Regions from separate parts of the Homo sapiens genome. Here region 2 is linked to region 1. Evidence: promoter capture Hi-C in human tissues and cell types (Jung and others, 2019). All regions are on one chromosome and are shown on one strand. Each heading gives the region's core, a stretch centred on a gene start or on the middle of the fragment in contact. The rest is flanking DNA. Distances are from core to core; before and after follow the strand shown.

Region 1 (3,621 bases), core at 210-2,709:
TCCCCATTTTACAAATAAAGAATCTGATGTTCAGTAAGGTTAAGTACTCTGCCCAAGTTCAGAGTTATTAAGCAGCGGACTTTGGTTTGAAATCTATATTGAATGATCCCATTATCCACATCCTTACTTTTATGCATTCAGTTTTCCACAAGACACTTGATGGAATTTCTTATACTACCTATAAATTTTGCTAGAGTAGAACATTCTGTGTTCCCCCTAATTGAATGTTACAGGCCCCTCTGTAAATTTAGGAAAGTTCCAAAGTGTTCCCTGGATACTTGTTCTGCCTCTAGCATGAAATGTACAAAAGTAGCAGAGAAGATCCAAACCAGACTTTGCTCTCAGAGTAGGCTGCATAACTCCCTCTTGTCTTCTCCACTGGTCTACATCAGTCTTTTGTCTACAACCCTGACTTTTTTAAAAATGGTATTGGATGCTACCATTATGGTTATGGTTAACTGGGGGCATCATTGGTGCCTGAGTTTCTACTCAAATAACATAAGGGAAATCAAGAGACCAAGGCCATGATGACTCAAGCAGTCTCCATGGCTTGGTGGTAAAGGAGTGAATCCTTCCTTACAGCTGATCTTGCCTTTGTATATGTCACATATTGGTCCTGATTAGAAAGGTCTATAGGCTAATTTGTGCAAGACACATTCCTTCTCATTATACCATGATACAGGCCATGTGAAACACCAGATTCAATCTTATAGCCTCTCTGCTGCTGCTAAGTAAGAAACTTCTACTTTTAGTGTCTTTTCTCTCTCAACACAAAAATACTCTGTAAGTCACCCAGATCTGGGTTGCCCATGATTACCAGGCTTTTCCCAATTAGAAATATGACTCATGTTCCATTTTACCAATACATCTCAGGCACAGAACTAGCAAGGAAAGACAAAATTAAAATGTTTCTGTAATTCCAGCCCATCAATTGAAACAAGATGTTTCTGAACTTTTCCCAATGTGAAGAACAAAAAGTAATAGCATTTTGTTTATTTATTTGTGTACAACACTGTGGTCAGGAACTTGTTGCTTCCCCAGGGAAATTGCTTGCAAGCATCACTGAGAAGAGGACTTAACAATTCACACTGATCATTCCCTGTGGTCTGCCATGGCGAGGGTGATACTTTCATGTTTTATAAGCACCAGACAAGAGAGCTGGATCAATTTTCTCTCTCGATATTCTAGTCTCTGTTGAAACGACTCCCTCAGACATCAGCAGCTCCGGGTTCTTTCTAAAAAATAAAGTAAGTACTCTTAGGTCTGTTCACAGTAAGGGACAAGAAGTCCAAAACATATCCCTGCCTTTTACAATTCAGAAATCAACGTGGAGATCTTTCCTACTTTTAGGCAGTACATACAGCTTCGCTGAGGTCTGTGTGTCAAACTTACTGAGAGGAGGACATCGTGGAGACTTATCGTTAATTAGCAATGCTTATGCATGCAAACCTTGGTCAGATGATGTTGTGTTTGGAGAAAAGAGAGAAGAGAATTGAATAAGTACATGACCCCTTGGAAGCTGTTTTCAGTTGAGGATTTTGGTGAGTAGCCACTTGAAATCAAGGGAAATTCCATGAATAGCAGGAGCTGGGAAGAAAGGAAGAGGAGGAAGGATCCCACCACTTTTTTCTTCCCATCTAACACCGTGCTTATGCAAAGCATAGTCCATATGAGATCTGCCTTATAAAAACTTGCTGAATAAAGCGAATGGAAGTTAAATTTTGGACTTTCTTCCATAATAGCTTCAAATTATGGTGACTTTGTTGCCTATAGAGGGCCAGGAAATACATTTCTTTGAGATCCTAGAATCTGAGTGTGTGCTCTACACAGGATGGATAGAGCGAGCCTCTGGCAGTTCCATTTATCCAGAGGCAAAAGCACGCCTGCCACTGGAGGCGCTCTTGGGTTCCAACAAAGAACCTATGTTGCCTAAGGAAACAGTGCTTTCTCTTAAAAGGTACAATCTTGGCTCCTCTGCCATGAAGCGGAATGTTCCTGGACATGTGCTTCAGAGACCTTCCTATTTAACCAGGATACAAGTTACATTGTTATGCAATTCCTCTGCTGAGGCCCTGTAAAAGGAGTGAGTTAGGACAGATGCAGCAAGATATTAGGACAGATTTCGCCCATTATTCAGGCTGCACAACACAGAAGGAAACTTGATTTCAATAAGACCCAATTCTTAACAGTCTTTTCTACCCACTTTTACCCATAACTTTTCCAAATTTGGTTCAAATTGTGCAGAGAAACAATAAAATTTTTAAAAAGGATAAACTGGCTAGTTAAAAGTAAATGGCATTTAATTAAAACAAATCTTGCAAATTCATGAAAAAACAAAAAGCTATGTGATGGTAAACCTTAGGGCAGCGTACAGTGCCACTGTCCTTTGCAGTTTTGAGTGTATTTCATTTGTACATTGGAAGTAGGTACTTGTCATATTATTAACAATTACTCTACTTAGTTGTACACTCAGCATTTGGCATCAGAATAATCTTGTGTAGTCACAGGGTTTTCATTTTCTTTCTGTATTTTTTAAGCATGTTTCTGAGTGGTGGTTCACATAAGCTTTCAATTTTAAATAACACAATCCATTTATTTCACTAGGCGTCTTTATTTGCTTAAAGTGAAGAATCAGAGATTGTCATTGTGTTGTAAATAAGTCTAACCTTTCTTTCCCTTTACAAAAAAAAAAACCTGTGGAACTGAAAGAAATAGAAATTCCAGTAATCTTTTATGAACTCTGTTATTAGAGTGAGTAGAACTAAATCTGTGGGGAAAAAAGGAAAAGGAAATGGAAAAGGTGTTTCAGAGCTTTTACTTTAAGCTATTCTAGTGTCCCCTTCTCTGCTTTCTTTCCACTACCCTGACCCATACCTACCCACAGTGAGAACTGAGCCCGCAGGGCAGCTCAGAAGCTGGGAGGAGAGAAAGAGTGAGAATCTGAGTTATTTTTCCTCAGTGATCTTAAAAGCTCCAGGCAGAAAAGACCCTGCCTATAGAACCTCCCTTTTGCATTTCTCAATTGCATCGGAGAAACTCCTAAATTGCATCAGTGATCCTGAAGCTGTTAAAGTAAAGAATTTTCTGTAGAAGAAAGAAAAGAGAAAGAGAAAGAAAAGGCAAAAACTTAATCATGCCTGGGATCTTTTGAGGTAGAAAAAACTGACAAGAAACAAACTTTCCTTATATTCTAGTGTGTTGGAAAACAGTGGAAGGACTGTTTGCCAAATTGTCTTAGCGGTTCTCAAAGATGGCTGGCCAAATCATAAGAGAATACGCTTAGGTTCGTGTAGTTCTGAGTCCAGCATTGTGGGTGAAGCACAGGTTTCAGCGTAAAGAAATCTGCTGTCTAGAAACCATGGGAAGTATGTCATCCTCTCTTTTCTTTACCATATAGAGATCCTTCATGGATATGCTGTTGTTTGAAGAAAATTTTGTTTAGGAAGTAAGAAAAATATAATTAACATTGCCCTAAAGAAGCAAAGCTCTTTATTTTCATTTTCACTTCCTTTTGCTTTTGCATTGAAGAGTTAAGACAACATTTCAGCAGAGAAATGTGGAGAAGGGTAAAGAGAAATCAATAAAGTTATTCTGTGACTTTCCCCAGGAGGGAGCAGTGTT
Region 2 (3,614 bases), core at 1,058-3,557, 41 kb before region 1:
TGTTGGTAGCTTTCCAGAAAACCACCTCTCCGTGGGGGAATGAGCGAGCCTGTTTCTGATGGCTACAGCTGTGCAGATTTCTGCCACAGCCTTGCTGCTTCAAGTGCACGATCCTGTGCGTGGCACAAGTGTAAATATGCCTGTTACACGCCTGGGTTATAAAATCTGGGAGGAACAACGGCGCTCCTTTCCTCTCTATTTTTCTTTTTCTGTCTTACCCTCCTCCCTTTCTATCTCTACCACCCCTCCCCCAACACAAAGACCCTGTAATTCTAATTAGAAGATGAATATAAAGCTATTAGGAAAAAATCCTGACTTTTAGGGATTTGATATGTTGGATTTTATGTGGCTGGGCTTGCTGCAGGGGAGACGACCATAAATTCTGCAGTGGTTTTACCTAAAATTGTTTTTACCTTGAAATAGCTCTAGGGGAGTATAGATGCTGCCTCATTGGAGCCGATGCTGAATATAAATCTTCATATTTCTCTTTCTGCCCCCTCCCATTTTAGAGTCTGGGGAAAAAGGAAAAAAGAAACCTAGCCAAAAAAACGTTAAGGTTTGACTTTGGCTCTTTTACAAACAGATGTTGCTTGTCATTCTCTTGTTGTTAAGCAGGCACCAGATTGGATCAAGCAGCAGTTGTGTGTGTGTGTGTATGTATGTATGTGTGTGTGTGTGTGTGTGTGTGTGTGTGAGAGAGAGAGAGAGAGAGAGAGACAGAGAGAGAGAGAGAAAGAGTTAGGAGGTTGATGGAGGGCTAGAAAGCAAAATAACCAGATCAATATTTGGGACAAGTTGAGAGCGAGAAGTAAGGAAAATAGTCTAATACTTTTTTTCTTTCCCAACTTCAATTTGGTGAAGAGTATATAAAATCGTCTTCTAGTTGGTTGGTTGTTGTTCCAAACAAAGAGAGACATGTGGAAATCAATAGACATGGAGAGCCCTAGGTGGAGAAACGCTGACCTGCTGGGTGAAATGCAGAGAGACAGGGGTGTGTGACTTTTCCTCTGAGTGGATCTGCACCCTGGAGTAAGAAAAAAGGTCTTTCTGTTTCAGCTGAACATCTTTTCTTGGGTTTGAAGGTTGCTTTTTTTTTTTTTATAAGTATCATTTTGGACGTTCCAGGCTCCTCTATAACTTTCCCAGAACAAGACTCCATTGTCATGCGGTCAAAACCCTCAAGAAATACTCACTCTTTACATATTATGTATCTCTTTTCTTGCAGGATTCAATCTTCAAATCTTCCCAAGCCATCCTATCCACCCACTTTCTCATCTAATTGTGAGATACTTTCTCAAGAGCAAAACATAGCTTTGAACAGAAAGTGTTAAAGTTGGCTGGTGTCTAGGAAGCATTTATATAGCATATAGTTCACTTCTATTAAAGAGATGACAGTCATCTGATTTTTAAAAGTACGTGTCTGATGTTTCTATGTCAGAATCAAGGTCTTGTTATTTTTTCAAATTTCAATTCTCCTCCCCTGCTTTATTAGCAAAATAGCTAGAAAGGAAGTTGTAGGCTGGCATCATTGTTTGCATTTTAAAAAGGAAGAAAAATTGTCATCCTGAGCAAACTTATTCCTTTCAAAAGTGAAAGTAGTATACCTTAGCCAGCGCACACGATACAACTTGGTACTGGCAAAGTCTCTCTTTTGTTTCATCTAGTGTGTCAAAAGTGAATTTGCCATCAATTTCTCACTCTCAAATAGTTGATTTCTGTTATATGCCTGTTTTAAGTGAATATTAAGTGGGTTTAAGATTTTTTTAATTACAGAAAAGTAAGCTCACTATTCAAATAGTCTAAGAGTGTCTTTTGTTTTCATCCGATCTATCTTCTATTATACCATTTTCCATCTTTTCTCTTTGCTTGATCTACACACACTTGCATTTATCATTTTCATAAAATATTGTTTAGTGTGGGCAGGGTGTGGTGAGATGAAGATTATAAATATCCATCAATCTTCAGTGTTCCATTTGCTCGAAAGAAACATGAAAGCCATGGCATTGCTTTGCCATTCTCCTCGCTCCCTACTGCCTTCTGGCCAGTTTTTCCTTGTAAAAAGGAATGAGTTCTACCTAAGCTAACTGGTTTTGATGCCAAAAGCCTCTGCGTCATATCCTTGAGCGCTGCTCCCACTCTGTGGTCTGATATCCTTGTGGCAATGTCCCAGGTGGATAAAACGTGGCACGACAATTGGCACCAATGAATTACTCTTGGAGTAGCAATTGCTGGATGTGCCTCTTTTGTTGAGGTGATTGGATCTTTTGGCAAAAACCAGTGACTGCAAAGGATGAGAGAAACGATCAGAAAAACTGAAAAGCTGTAGGAGACCAAACACTAGTGTCTCCCCTGCTTCAGGGGACACCCACTGTCAGAGTGAACGACAAAGGTTAGATTTGAACAAGCTTTCTTTCTTTCTTTCTCTTTCTTTCTTTCTTTCTTTCTTTCTTTCTTTCTTTCTTTCTTTCTTTCTTTCTGTTTCTCTTTCTTTTCTTTCCTTTCTTCCTACTTTTTCTTTCTCCTTCTTTCTTTCTCTTTCCTTCCTTCCTTCCTTTCCTTATTCTTTCCTTTTTTTCCTTCTCTTTATTTTTTCTTTATTCTCTATCTTGCTCTTTCTTTCCTTTCTCTGTCTCTGGCTCTTTTTCTTTTTCTCTCTTTTTTCTTTTCTCTCTCTGTGCCGCTCTCTTTTCTCTTTTTTTCTCCTTCCTTCCATCCTTCCTTCCTTCCTTCCTTCCTCCTGTCCTTCCCAGATAAAAAATATTATCTGGTCAAACTGTCCCATCTGTTTGGGACAAAGGAGATCCACTGAGATTTTGTACAAGACGTACATTTTTAAAAAGGAAGGGGGGTAGAGGGCAGGAAATCTTTCCGTTGGTGTCGTTCTGCTGATGTCACCATGGATTCAGTGTTCAAGTCCACAGCCAGGCAAAACTCAAATAAATTTTCCTTTTTGCAAGCAGCTGCACTGTGAGTTCGCCTTCCATTAGTAAAGGGACAATGAAGGGAAGGCGAACCCCGCGTCCAAAACATGGCCAATGAAAGGACACTGGAATGGAAGCCAGGAATCCTGCTGTGGTGGAGAGGCATAGACTCATGAGTCCACCACAATCGGATACTTGCTTCTTTTTAACAGCCCTATCAGCCGAGAGAAATAATGACTCCTGAATCATTTGACAGTAAAAAAGTTAAAATGATGTCTCAATGGCGCTGCATCATGCCAGGTAATCACTGCCCAATTCATTGATTATTCCTTAAACTATTCTTAACCATAGATAGCCTATCTCTTCATCATGCTTAGCAAGTGAGTGGTTTGGTATAAAACATTTGTACAAAAGTATGGGAGTATTCCGAGACTTCACATTCCTATTTGATCATTTTTCTGGTAAAATTGTTCTCAAGGTCCAAGCGTAGCCAGGGGAATTCCAGGAAAGATTTGTGAAATTACTTATTTGCAGAACCTATTTATTATGCGTAGTTCTGGAAATGAAGTAAACATAATGGTTCCCGATGTTTTTCTAGAAATAGTTTTATTTCAGTTTTTGTTTTTCTTTTTACTCTTGTTCTAGTGTTACTTTCAACTTTACAAAAGAGTTGGGTGGCAAAAAAAAAAAAAA

The links. Contacts are between HindIII fragments. The study calls those that stand out against the background at their distance.
Region 2: a contact is called between a fragment that was not itself captured here and the fragment with the promoter of BLID in region 1, in 3 of the 25 tissues and cell types used here (aorta, hippocampus and liver).

What each region holds. Positions count from the first base shown.
Region 1 is chr11:122,114,053-122,117,673 of GRCh38, reverse strand. It overlaps BLID (BH3-like motif containing, cell death inducer), which reads left to right and starts at 1,459. Exons shown (of 1, transcript NM_001001786.3): 1 at 1,459-2,334. The coding sequence starts at 1,752. The coding sequence ends at 2,078. The region is part of intron 4 of MIR100HG (mir-100-let-7a-2-mir-125b-1 cluster host gene); the gene reads left to right. The HindIII fragment of the contact is 11,140 bases long and covers 1-3,621 here.
Region 2 is chr11:122,155,704-122,159,317 of GRCh38, reverse strand. The region is part of intron 3 of MIR100HG (mir-100-let-7a-2-mir-125b-1 cluster host gene); the gene reads left to right. Among named protein-coding and RNA genes, the nearest start is that of MIR100, 5.2 kb to the right of the region's middle. The HindIII fragment of the contact is 4,853 bases long and covers 1-3,614 here.